Regions from separate parts of the Homo sapiens genome. Here region 1 is linked to region 2. The links are contacts of gene promoters, found by promoter capture Hi-C in blood cells and fetal thymus (Javierre and others, 2016). All regions are on one chromosome and are shown on one strand. Each heading gives the region's core, a stretch centred on a gene start or on the middle of the fragment in contact. The rest is flanking DNA. Distances are from core to core; before and after follow the strand shown. Region 1 overlaps MTCL2 (microtubule crosslinking factor 2). Region 2 holds the start of MTCL2 (microtubule crosslinking factor 2).

Region 1 (6,634 bases), core at 2,801-5,300, 60 kb after region 2:
AGGCGGGAGAATGGCGTGAACCCAGGAGGCGGAGCTTGCAGTGAGCCTAGATTGTGCCACTGCACTCCAGAGTGGGAGAGAGAGCAAGACTCCTTCTCAAAAAAAAAAAAAAAAAAAAAAAAAAAAGACAGGGTTTCTCCATGTTGGCCAGGCTGATCTCTCAAACTCCTGACCTCAAGTAATCCACCTGCCTTGGCCTCCCAAAGTGCTGGGATTACAGGCATGAGCCACCATGCCTGGCCAAAAGATATGTTTACTTAACAAGAGGGAGTAGGCTGGCTTAAAAACATTGGTGATAGTACAGGTGGTATTAGGATGTGGCAGGAAACGTGGGGGCGGAGCTCTGGGAATGTAAGAAGCTTAGAAAGGACCCACCTGACCCATTCATGCCCCAGTCTATGCAGGACCCTTTGCTGCTCAAAGCCCTTGCGTCCTGTCATCAGCACAGCAGCACACATCAACACATCAGGGAAGAGAAGGGGACTTACAAGGATGTCAGACCTTGGTCACACTCATCTTAGTTGACATTGTTCACTTTGGCCGTGTCCTTTTGGGTTCAGGTACCTCGAGTCTAGCCCAGGCTTGGCCCTCCTCTAGTCCAGGCTGCTCTCTGTAGTCCCCTGTCCAGATCCAGTAGGGAGCATTGGCATGCCTCAAGTTGCCACTTACGCCATCAGGGGTACTCCAGAGGAGCCCAGATGCCCCAGGAGCCAGGCAAGACAGTTAGACCTGAGTGTGTAGCAAGACCCTGCATCACCCTATCTCAGTGGGGCTCATCATTCTCGCAGGCCACCAGCTCCTCCCCAGGGCCTCATGGGAGAGTCACTACCGCCATTCCATAGGCCCACACCCTGCTGCCCTGGCCCTGCAGTGCCTGACACAGGGCCGCCCCTGGGAGCATTCGCCTCGGTCCTCCTGTCCGAAGCTGTCTCTTCTGTGACGTTTGGAAACATAGGAGCCCTCTCACCTGTTTGGAAGTCTCACAGGCCTCTGGATGAAGCCCAGTTTAAGGGAATGACCTGCAGGCCACACAGTCTATATTTTAAGTCAGTTTGTCTCAGACGAACCCTCCACATTTGGTGAAAACCTTTCTAGCCATTTCCATATCCTAGAGTAAAAGAGAGAGAAACTTACTTTAGGGAAAAAAAATTAGGGCATAAACATAGAAAATTGGCTAGGTGCAGTGGCTCACACCTGTAATCTCAGCACTTTGGGAGGTTAAGGTGGGCAGATCACTTGAGATCAGGAGTTCGAGACCAGTCTGGTCAACGTGATGAAACCCTGTCTCTACTAAAAATACAAAAATTAGCTGGGAACGGTGGTGCACACTGGTAGTCCCAGCTACTCAGGAGCCTGAAGCAAGAGAATCTCTTGAACCTGCAAGGCAGAGGTTGCAGTGAGCTAAGAGCATGCCATTGCACTCTAGCCTGGATGACACAGTGAGACTCCATCTCAAAAAAAAAATAAAGAGACACAGAAAATTACATAACATATATAATTAAGAAATATATACATTTACCAAAATAAGCATAATTAATAAGATATAAACATAATCATGCTGGGCATGGTGGCTCGCGCCTGTAATCCCAGCATTTTGGGAGGCTGAGGCAGGAGGATTGCTTGAGCACAGAAGGTGACTCGCTCCCTTTTGTCTTATTTCCATCCTGAACTAGGTCCCTGATCTCCTTGGCTGGCCCTGGACTCTTGCCCAGAATCTATCAGCAAGCAGTCCAACCCCCCAGCAAGGTCCCTTCTGTCCACCCAAACCTTTGGTCACCCTTATGTAGCATTGTGGGAGTGCGTGTGGCCTTTTCATTTCAACCACAGTGCCTGCCTTGACCCAGCCTGTCAACATGGTTATTTCAGAGTGACTCTCAGGGATGCTTCCTGGTCTTTGGGGCAGAATAGATGTCGTGGGAGGCTAGGAGGGCCTGACTATCCAGCCGTGCTCCTCGACCTACATGGTGCCCAAGGTTGGAATTAAAATTTGGGAAAACTTCCCACCTGCTGTTAAGCATGGTTTTTAAAAAACAGGTGAACAGCATGAAGGAGCTGTACTTGCTGATGGAGGAAGAGGAGATAAACGCTCAGCATTCTGATAACAAGGCCTGCACGGGGGACAGCTGGACCCAGAACACGGTGTGTTTCCAGCCCCTTCCCGGTCCTGTTGTGTCCATTCATTCCTTTGTCTGCTCAGTAATCAATTCCTACTGCTTTCTCTGACCCCATTCCTGGACATTGAAGTTGCAAGTTATTGCCTGGTCATCCCAGGGCAGTAACAGAGTCCAGATGATGGACTGTGGGGTCATAGGCAAGACAGCAAGTAATTCTCTTTGCAGTATAGGGGACAATATCACGGTGAAGGGGTCATGGATGATGGGTTTTGAAGGATGTATAGGAGTTTACCTAATAGAGAATAGGGGAAAGACTATTCTGGACCAAGAGAACTCTGTGTGCCAAGGTGTGGCAAGGTGTTCTGGTATTGAGTATGGCTTGGGAGGTACATGGTAAGGGTAAGGATATCAGGCTAGAGTCATCTGAAGAGGGGCCTTGTGGTCTAGGGTCAGGAACCTTCAAATCAAGCCATAAGTCAGAGAGAACAGTGGGGTCAGGATCCCAGGGTCACACACGGTGAGCTGGGGTAGGGATGGGAAATGAGGGCATGGGCCCAGGAGAGAAGATTTGGGACAGAATCAGGCAAACTGAGGGAGTCTCCATGAATTAGACCCCACATCTGGCCTGCAGCGGGTCAGAGAGGCAGATCCTGAGTGAGGAGAAGGACCCACGGCACAGACGCTGCAGAGCCTTGAAGAAGCCAGATGATTCAGCTCAGAGTTAGGCTGAATAATTATTACTGTAACTGCAGGGTTTTTTCTTGGTGTCAGATTTGGGCCTCATGTCAGCCTAGGAGGTAGCCAGGGCTGGGCCTGTCATTCCCATTTTATGGGTGAGATGACCTAGGGAGGTTGTGGGACTTGCCTGAGGCCTCGTGAAGTCCCAAGCTGGACTCCTAGGTGAGTTCTCTGAACCCAGGTTCCCCTCCCTACCCCACAGAGGCTCTTGACTCAGGTTTTGCCTCCTGTCTGCAGCCCAATGAGTACATCAAGACACTGGCCGACATGAAGGTGACGCTGAAGGAGCTGTGCTGGCTGCTCCGGGATGAACGCCGTGGTCTGACGGAGCTTCAGCAACAGTTTGCCAAGGCCAAGGCTACCTGGGAGACAGAGCGGGCAGAGCTCAAGGGCCATACCTCCCAGGTGAGCCCCCCACCTGTCAGACGCCTCTCCCCTTACTCTCAGCCAAGCCTTTAGCTGTCAGATCTGGGAGTAGAATACCAAGGCCATGCTCCTAGAGGAATAAGAATGCCGTTGCTTCACCTGTGGCCCAGAGAGGGCAAGAGACTTGCCTAAAGTCACACAGCAAGGGTATCAGAAACGGTGGGGAATGGGAGTCACAGAGGAAGGGAAGGAAGGTGGGGGATTGCGCCCTGGGCTCACAGGTGAGGCTGGTGCACATCCCCACTGCCTGCTGTCCTCATTTGCTCCTTCATTTCCTCATAAGCACTCCCTCAGCCCCAACTGCCTGGCTCTATTTTGCTCCCTCCACGCAAAATGGGGGCCTCCCCTCCCAACTCCCCAGCGTGCCCCCAAAGGAGCCTTAACCAGGAGCCCTGGGGGTTTGGTGTCTGCTGTGTGCCTGAGGGTGACTTGCTGCCTCCTTTGGCCTGAAAAGTGAGAGGGTGGGCTTCTTCCCACTCAGAGAGAATGCTCTGACCCTGCAGCTTGGGCTCCAGCTTCTTCCATCCAGCCTGCCCCTGCTGCAAGCTGCCTTCCCAGGCGTCAGCAGCCTCTGGGAGGCAGGCACTCCGATGGTCTCTGCTGGACAGATGACAAAACTGGCACAGAGGAGTTAAATTTATCTCCCAAGGTCACCCGGCTAATAAGTGTCAGACTGGCCCTTGCTCCCCCAAACCTCTAACCCCTGGCTCCCTGTGACCCCAATTCCACCTCCTTTTTTTTTTTTTTTTTTTTTTTTGAGACGGCATCTCACTGTGTCACTCAGGCTGGAGTGCAGTGGTGCAATCTTGGATCACTGCAACCTCCGCCTCCCGGGTTCAAGAGATTCTCCTGCCTCAGCCTGCAAAGCAACTGGAATTATAGATGGCACACCACCATGCCCAGCTAATTTTTGTATTTTTAGTAGAGATGGGGCTGCACCATGTTGGCCAGGCTAGTCTTGAACTTCTGATCTCAAGTGATCTGCCGGCCTCAGCCTCCCAAAGCGCTGGGAGTACTGGCGTGAGCCACCACTCCCGGCCCCAATTCCACCTTCTTCCCACTGCTCACAGTCTCCTGGCTACTTCCTGGGGCCACTACTCTCCCCTCCTAACCCTCTTCCAGATCTCACAGCTCCCTCCATCTGCATATTCCACGGTGTCCCCTGCACCTGCTGCCCCCAAAGACCTGGGCATTTCAGGTGCTCCTCCCACCAAGAACCTGACCAGCTCATGGGGGTTAATGGGGGGCATTGAGTCTAAAGGTTGCACATTCCCTTTCCTGCCACTCTGAGGTTTGAGGCCAAGAAAACCATCTTGCTGGAATGACCACTAGTAATCTTTCTGAGTTTTTATGAGGATACTGACATCATGCCTGAAAAGCCCACAGAAGAGCATGGCTTATAGAAAGAGCTCTTCAAACCCTTATTGTGTGGAGGGGTTAGGGGTTAGTTCTGAGTGGGGAGGACTAAGCTGGGTTAGTCCCTAGTGAGGGGTCTTCTGAGGGGACCTCTCCCCTTTTCCCCGCTGGCACCCAGGAGGGAAGGAGAGAGAAGGGCCAAGAGGAGTGGCCTCCTGCTGCCAGCTGCTTAGTCTGCTTCTTTCCGCAGATGGAGCTGAAGACAGGGAAGGGGGCCGGGGAGCGGGCAGGGCCCGACTGGAAGGCAGCCCTACAGCGGGAGCGTGAGGAGCAGCAGCACCTCCTAGCTGAGTCCTACAGCGCTGTCATGGAGCTGACTCGGCAGCTGCAGATCAGTGAGCGCAACTGGAGCCAGGAAAAGCTGCAGCTGGTGGAGCGGCTGCAGGGTGAGAAGCAGCAGGTGGAGCAGCAGGTGAAGGAGCTGCAGAACCGCCTAAGCCAGGTGAGGCCCACCCCTGCCAAGCCGCTTCCACCCGCAAGGGAGAGTTGCTACAGAAATGATTCAGAAGCAGGAACTCCTTCAGGTATAGCTGGATCTAGGTGCTCATCCAGTGAGGTCTGGCACACCATCTCCTTCAGGTATAGCTGGATCCAGGCACTTAGAGAATGCAGTGGGAACTAGATTTTTCTTTCTGCTTCAGCCTGTCAGGCCTGCTTTCCTCTGTGTTAGCTTTACTCTTAAACAAGCTATTCCCAAATATGGCCACTGTTAGTTTCATGCTCATATCTTACAGCTTAGCAAGTACAGTGGATTGGCCAGATATGAGTCATGTGCCCACCCCTGGAGCCTACCCAAACCCAGGAACCAAGAGGGAGGAACTAAGAGTGGTTCCCATGGGAAAATTGGGAGGCCTCCAATCAAAAGAAGGAGGAAAGGAAAAGCAATCATTGACCCTCACTCCCCATTATAGTTCACTTCATGCAGCCAGGCACCACCTACCATAGGCTGCTCTGCTCCACTCTTGATTTTGACTTTTCCCTTTCTTTCACTTTTATTTTTATTTACTTATCTATTTATTTGAGACAGAGTCTCACTCTGTCACCCAGGCTAGAGAGCACTCTCGGCTCACTGCAGCCTCCGCCTCCCAGGTTCAAGTGATTCATGTGCTTCAGCCTCCTCAGTAGCTGGGATTACAGGCGTGTGCTACCACAGCCGGCTAATTTTTATATTTTTAGTAGAGATAGGGTTTCACCATGTTGGCCAGGCTGGTCTCAAACTCCTGGCCTCAAGTGATCCTCCCGCCTCAGCCTCCCAAAGTGCTGGGATTACAGGAGTGAGCCACCATGCCCGGCCTTACTTTTATTTTATTTATTTTTATTTATTTATTTTTTCTTTGAGACAGTCTTACTCTGTCGCCCAGGCTGGAGTACAGTGGTGTGATCTCAGCTCACTGCAACCTCCACCTCCCGGGTTCAAGTGATTCTCCTGCCTCAGCCTCCCGAGTAGCTGGGATTACAGGCACGTGCCACCACACCCGGCTAATTTTTTATTTTTAGTAGAGATGGGGTTCACCATGTTGGCCAGGCTGGTCTCGAACTCCTGACCTCAGGTGATCCGCCCGCCTCGGTCTTCCAAAGTGCTGGGATTACAGGCATGAACCACCGCGCCTGGCCTTACTTTTAATTTTAATTACGTAAATCAGGACTTCATCTTTATATAATGTTCACATATTACAAAGGTACATTTCAGCCTACTCCCTCCCTTTCTTGTCATTTTTTTTTAATGAAAAAAAGTTGTTTTTTTTTTTTATGAGAGATGAGGTCTTACTGTATGGCCCAGGCTGGACTTGAGCTCCTGGTCTCAAGCCATCCTCCTACCTCAGCCTCCCGAGTCGCTGGGCCTTTCTTTCTATTTAAATTTATATTTACAGGGTTTTGTTTTGTTTGTTTTTTAATCATCAATCAAATTTTAATGTCCATTTATTTATACTTTGTGTCTT
Region 2 (6,557 bases), core at 624-3,123:
TGAAGTCATGCCTCTGGAGAGAGGGGATGCCCCAGGAGTGTATTCACAGCGTGTGGGGGAGGTGGGACAGAGACAAAGAAGTGGACCTGGTGCCTGCTGTGTCACAGGCAGGTGCAGAGGTGAAGGAAGGGAATTGGGGGAGGAAGAAGAAGGAGAAAATGGGCAGGAGGAAGAAGAGGGGAAAGAGGAGGAAAAGGAAGACTTGGAAAAGGAGGGGGGAAAGGAAGGGGAAAGATGGGAGAAGAAGGAGGAAGAAAGAGCAGGGGATAAATGGGAGGGGGAGGAGAGAACAGGAGGAGAAAGAGGTTGTAAAGGGGCAAAAACAGCCCTGCCCTTCTGGTGGCAAGGGGTGTGGGGCACCCTAAGGACGAGGGTACATCTGTGGGGCAAAGCACTCAATCCAGCTCTGCCCTGCGGTGGCTCAGGGATGGGGGCGTAGCGGCCAGGCGGTGTGGGGGCTGGGGAAGGTGTGAGAGACATGGGAAAATCAACACGGCCAGGAGCCAAGGAGACGCCCAGACGCCCGGGAGGAAAGAAAACACGCCCATCAGAGCTCAAGTCCTCCTGCACTGCTCCTGGTGGGGACGTGTGGGGTCAGGGCAACCGTCCCAGCCCATGCCAGCCCCCACGGGGGCCAAAACCGCCTTCCAAAGCATCCGCTAGGCTGACATCTCGTAATAGGTCCCCTCCATTTTATTTTTGTTTTTATTTATTTGTTTATTTTTTTGAGATGGAGTCTAGCTCTGCCACCCAGACTGGAGTGCAGTGGCGCGACCTCGGCTCACTGCAACCTCCGCCTCCCGGGTTCAAGCGATTCTCCTGCCTCAGCCTCCCGAGTAGCTGGGATTACAGGCACGCGCTACCACGCCCGGCTAATTTGTGTATTTTTAGTAGAGACGGGGTTTCATCATGTTGGTCAGGCTGGTCTCGAACTCCTGACCTCGTGATCCACCCGCCTCGGCCTCCCAAAGTGCTGGGATTACAGGCATGAGCCACCGCGCCTAGCTACGGGTCGCTTCCATTTTAGCCGTACAGAGCCTGAAACCCGGGTCGGGGGCGCATGGGGAGAAATATCCGCCGGTCAAGGTGCGCGAGCCAGGCATGCACACAGGGCTTCACGGTCCCTATGCCAGGAGAGGGAAGCCGAGGCAGGGGGAGCCCGAGCGCGCCCGGGAGGTGTGAGCTTTGGGTCCCATCGGCGCCGCCTAGACCGTGAGCTTGGCGCGTGCACCCCAGGCTTCAGTTTACGCATCTGTGCGATGGGATCGCGGCTCCGGCGATGCCGGCTAAGGGGGCGGAGTTCGCGCACGCTCGGCACGGGGCGAGGGGCGAGGCGCTGGGCGTGCATGGATGCGGGTTCCTGCGAACTGAGGTCCGCCCGGCCTCGGCCCGGGAGTCCCGGCTCCCGCCGCTCTCGCAGGCCCTGCCCGGACGCCGGGCGCAGGGGCGCCTCCGCCGGGTGCCTTCCCCGAGCGGGCAGGGGAGGAGGCGGCGGAGCGGAGGAGGAGGGAGCCCGGGCCGCGGCTGCCCGCGCCAGCCTGACCCTCGAAGGGGTCGCTGTTGCCTCGCAGATCCCTCCCTCGCTCCCTGCCTGCGTCCCTCCCTGCCGCTCCCGCCGCGTCCGCCTTTTGTTCGCGGAACCGCGCGCCCCCGAGCCGAGGCGGCGGGGCGGGGAGCTGGCGGGGCTGCGCGGGGGGCGGGCTGCGCCGGGCGGAGCCGGGGCCCGGGCCGCAGCCGGACTCGGAGCCCGAGGGAGCGATCGGCGTGCGGGCGGCGGGGGCCCGGGCGCGCTCCGGGGGCGCGGCGAGGCCGAGGGGGCGGGCGCCGGGCGGAGCCGCAGCCGGAGCCGGGGCGCCTGGAGGCGGTCGGGCCGCACTCTCCGAGCCCAGAGCAGCGGAGAGACCGCGCGGCGGGGCTTGGGACGGGGACGCGGTGTCGGGGCCGAGGTGGGCCGAGAGCAGCCGCAGCCCCAGCGGCCGGAGCCGCGCCGGGTCCCTCCCCAGGGACGTCGAGGCCGGGCGGGCCTGGGCCATGCGCGCAGCTCGCTGAGGCCGAGGGAGGCCGCGATGGAGGCGCCGGCGGCCGAGCCCCCGGTCCGGGGCTGCGGTCCCCAGCCCGCGCCTGCACCCGCGCCTGCCCCGGAGAGGAAAAAGAGCCACCGCGCGCCGTCGCCGGCCCGGCCCAAAGACGTGGCCGGCTGGTCGCTGGCTAAGGGCCGCCGCGGCCCAGGCCCGGGCTCAGCAGTCGCCTGCAGCGCCGCGTTCTCCTCACGGCCGGACAAGAAGGGGCGCGCAGTGGCTCCCGGGGCGCGCGGTGCGGGTGTGCGGGTGGCCGGGGTCCGCACCGGGGTCCGTGCCAAGGGCCGTCCGCGCTCGGGTGCGGGGCCGCGACCGCCACCGCCGCCCCCCAGCCTCACGGATAGCAGCTCGGAGGTGTCGGACTGCGCGTCGGAGGAGGCGCGCCTGCTGGGCCTGGAGCTGGCGCTGAGCAGCGACGCCGAGTCCGCGGCCGGGGGCCCGGCGGGGGTCCGTACGGGGCAGCCGGCCCAGCCCGCGCCCTCCGCGCAGCAGCCCCCGCGGCCGCCCGCCTCCCCGGACGAGCCGTCGGTGGCCGCGTCGTCGGTGGGCAGCAGCCGCTTGCCGCTCAGCGCCTCGCTTGCCTTCTCCGACCTCACCGAGGAGATGCTGGACTGCGGGCCCAGCGGCTTGGTGCGGGAGCTGGAGGAGCTGCGCTCGGAGAACGACTATCTCAAGGTGGGGGCGCCCGGGTAGAAAGGGAGGTCGCAGGGGTCGCCGGCTGTCACAGTCCCGCGGGCCTGAGGCACCAGCCGGCCCTCCTTCCCACTGAACAATCCGGAGAAAGGGGCCCAAGCCCTCTGGGGACCACTCTGAGGTGGATCTGGGGCTCCCTCATTCCCCCCGCCCCCTCTCAACTTTATTTGGGAAGCGCGCTCCTGAAAAAGACCTTGGAACTGGCTACAGGGCCCTAACCTGGGAGCGGGGACTTGAGAAAGCTTTGGAGCGTTCTGGGAGGCGTTGCTGAGGTGGGGGTGGGTAGCCAGGGAAGGGATGGATCTCTGCCTTCAGCTGCCCAGAACCTCCACGCCCAGGCTCTCCTTCTTGGGACGGGATTGATAGACACCGCCGCCAGGGAAACCTGTGGCCATCCCCTGCCCAGGAAAGGCCTGAATGCCATCCTGAGTCGTTACCCAGGGCTTTCCCGGGCGCAGGCCTGTCTCTGCCTGCCTTTCTGGGCGGGTCCAGTTTGAAAGCATGACATCTGGGAACATCCCCTTGGCTGGAGTCCACTTCCGCCCAGCCTAACGGTCCCACAGCCTGGAGGATGATGTCGTGGGAGAACCGGTTCAGAGGCAGCTTCCTAAATCCCAGGACAGTGTCTTTTGCCCTCCCTGGGGCAGACCTTGTGCACACAACAGCCCCATTGGCCCCTCGTGGCCAGTGCCTTTCCATGTTCGCAGTGAGAGGAGGGCAACTGCCCACCTGGAACAGGACTTCCCTGTGGCCATGTGGGGACCCTAGGGCTTCCCCCGGACAGCAGGCTTTGCCTTTGCTTTTTCAGTGGACATGAGCACCTACTGGGTGCCAGCCGGGCTCCATCTGCACGCTTCCAGGTGCCATGGCAGCTTTAGGGACAGCCCAGCTTGCACGTGTTGACCTCTCCCTGGGAGGCTGGAAGCTTCCTGAGCTCTCCTGCCGCTGGCTGGGCACGGTTTTGGAGGAGGCTGAAATGTTGCCGACTCTTGTCAGTGGATGATGGCCTGGCACAACACCCAGAGTGCCCCTGGCTGTGGAGCTCACAGCATGCTGCTGGTTTATGTCTGCCCTCAGCACTTAGGTTTTAACTTTTCCTTGTGGCTCTTCTGACCAAATGGGCTTCTCCCTCATTAGAGTGTTGGTGTCTTGCTCAACTATGTCTCTGTCTCCCCATTTTCCCCGGGATCTGCTCTCCAGCCTGAGTTCTGTAAATGCTTGTAGTATGGAAGGACAAGGTCTGTCTGAATCAAGAGACACCTTTCCCCAAGCCAGGCCTCAGTCTCCTCATCCGTTAAATGGGAGGATGTCTTCCCAAGGGCCGGGTTCGGTGTTGGCAACTGGGAGTTCAGTCGGCTCTTTGAGTCTTCAGAAGCCGGTGGTAAGGAGAGGGCAAGTGGAAGGTGAGGAGGAGGAGGGAGGTGACGAGCCAGGACAAGGGTCTTTTGCTCCTGCCCTCTTGGTGCTCTGAGCTGCTTCCAGTGAGTGCTGCCTGAATTGGCCTTAACCGAAACTCTGAGTTCCTCACCCCTGCCTCCCGGTTCCTGCTACTCACTCTGGTGAAGGGGGATGGGTTGCAGAGCTTTGCTTCAGGGCTCCTAGGCACCCATCTCCATGGGCCCCTGTCCATCCCAGGAAGTCATCAGGCTCTGACCCAAAGTCTGTTTGAGGCACCCATGACTGTTTAAAGGGGAAAACAGTCCCAGGAGGCTGGGGGTTGAGCCCGGGATCTCACAGGGGCCGGGGTCCAGCTGGGGACATCCCACGTTTGGGCCAAGATGGAACCGTAATTTCCACCATTCATTCAGTGGCTCAGGCTTCGTGCTGCTATTGGATCTGGGGTCTGTCGCTTCCTGACGGCGTGATCTTTGGCAAGTTACTTAAAGGCCCTGGACCTTTGCTTTCTCATTTGTAAAAATGGGACAGTAACACGCTTTCCAACCTCAACGGTTAAATGAGCTGATTCCTGCAAACACCATTAGAGCACCTGGTATGTAGTAAACCTCTGATCACTGCTCTTGTCAGAGGCACGGGACATGTTTCCATGTGCACCCAGCCTGTTCTCTTGTGGATTCTGTGAGGGCAGAATAGATCCTCTTCATCACCCAAGGCAGGCTGGGCTCTTTCTCCTGGCCCCTCATTGGTTCATTCGGCAGCTGTTTATTTAGAACCTGCCGTGTGCTAGGGCAGATCTGGGATACAGCTGTGGACAAGGGAGGATGAGGTGTCTGTTTTCATAGAGCTTTTGGGGAGACCAGAATTAAACAATAGTCATACAAGAAATCACAACACAGATCATAATGAGGGTAAAGGGGACAGTTTGCCAGGAGCACACGAAGGTGGGGGCTGGGGTGCACAGGGAGGCTGAGGGCTGCAGGATGCCGTGGAGCCAACTGAGTGAGGGTCTGGAGTAAGAAGATTTCAGGCTAAGGGAAATTGGAATGCTCGTTGAGTTCAAGAACAGCGCTAAGGCCAGAGAGGGGAAGGAGTGTGGGTAAGAGAGGAGAGCAAGGCCAGCCCATGCCACTTCTCACTGTGTACATTTGGGTTAGTCCCTTAACTTCTCTGTATATCTGTTTATCCCAGCCGCCAGCCTCACAGAGGCAGGGTCAAAATCCAGAGACTAAATGTGGACCATAAATAGAGGGGTTATTACTGGAGGTGTTGTGTTGTTTATTCCACAGATGGGAAAACTGTGGCCAGAGTGGGTCCCAGAGCAGGGTCGCTAGGCTGCCAGGGCTTGGAGTAAGCATGTGTTAGACTCTTGATGTGTTTTCTGCCTTTCTGGACTACTTTGCCTCTAAGATGCAGAAACTGAGTACAAGGGAAAGGACTCCAAATCCCCAGTATGTCCCCTGCAGGAGCAGAGTTGAAGGAGGTCCCACCAGGTCTGGTGGGTGGCCCTGCTCAGGCTTACCTCCCCCTTGTAGGGGTCACTGGGAACTGTCAACTGCGAAGGACTGTGATCTCCAGTCTGGTATGGTCTGCTCTGGGGTCCAAGTGAGGAAAGCATAAATCGGGCAACTCTCTCCCAGTGAGAAGATAGAAGGAGCTTCTACAGAGAAGGTAGTGAGCTCACTGTCACTTTAATTATTCAGAGAGAGGCGGGATGACCTTGCATGCTTGGATAAAGATAGAGGGTTTGTGGAATGATTGCTTGAGAAGGGTTCAGAGGGAGATTGATGTGGTGGCTGCAGTTGAGCTGCCTGACCTTGGGTCCCTTCTAGCCAAGGAAGTCTGAAGGTTATTAACTACTGAGGTGCCAGGATTCTAAGATGCAGCTTTAGCTGCCGAGCAGACACGTCACCTGAGACCTTCAAAGACCCGGTGATCTGAGGTCTTCCAGCCTTTCATCACCACTAACCATTAAGCACGTACCATGTGGCCAGAACATGTAGGAACCCACTGGGTGTGGATGGAGGAATCTGAGAGTTGGAGTCTGAAGACCTGACTTTGAAACCTGACTCTCCCGTTTACTGTGTGGCCATGGGCAAGTTACCTGGCTTCTCTGAGCTGCTTTTTTTCTCATCTGTATAATAAAGGTGATGGGGCCTGGCGCAGTGACTCACGCCTGTAATCCCAGCACTTTGGGAGGCCAAGGCGGGCGGATCACCTAAGGTCAGGAGTTCGAAACCAGTCTGGCCAACGTGGCGAAACCCCATCTCTACTAAAAATACAAAAATTACCCAGGCGTGGTCGTGGGCGCCTGTAATCCCAGCTACTCAGGAGGCTGAGGCAGGAGAATCACTTGACCCTGGGAGGCAGAAGTTGCAGTGATCCGAGATG

Evidence for each region. The method cuts DNA at HindIII sites, captures the fragments that hold promoters and counts their contacts. A CHiCAGO score of 5 or more calls a contact.
Region 1: a fragment that was not itself captured here is called in contact with the fragment with the promoter of MTCL2 in region 2 in 2 of 17 cell types (M2 macrophages and endothelial precursors); the score reaches 5.0 in M2 macrophages.

Annotation. Positions count from the first base shown.
Region 1 is chr20:36,801,358-36,807,991 of GRCh38, reverse strand. It overlaps MTCL2 (microtubule crosslinking factor 2), which reads left to right. Exons shown (of 15, transcript NM_080627.4): 9 at 2,035-2,139; 10 at 3,090-3,257; 11 at 4,885-5,136. Among named protein-coding and RNA genes, the nearest start is that of DSN1, 31 kb to the right of the region's middle. The HindIII fragment of the contact is 7,378 bases long and covers 362-6,634 here.
Region 2 is chr20:36,858,854-36,865,410 of GRCh38, reverse strand. MTCL2 (microtubule crosslinking factor 2) reads left to right here and starts at 1,873. Exons shown (of 15, transcript NM_080627.4): 1 at 1,873-2,753. The coding sequence starts at 2,067. RefSeq lists silencers at 1,164-2,053, 2,124-2,273. The HindIII fragment of the contact is 4,947 bases long and covers 1-3,015 here.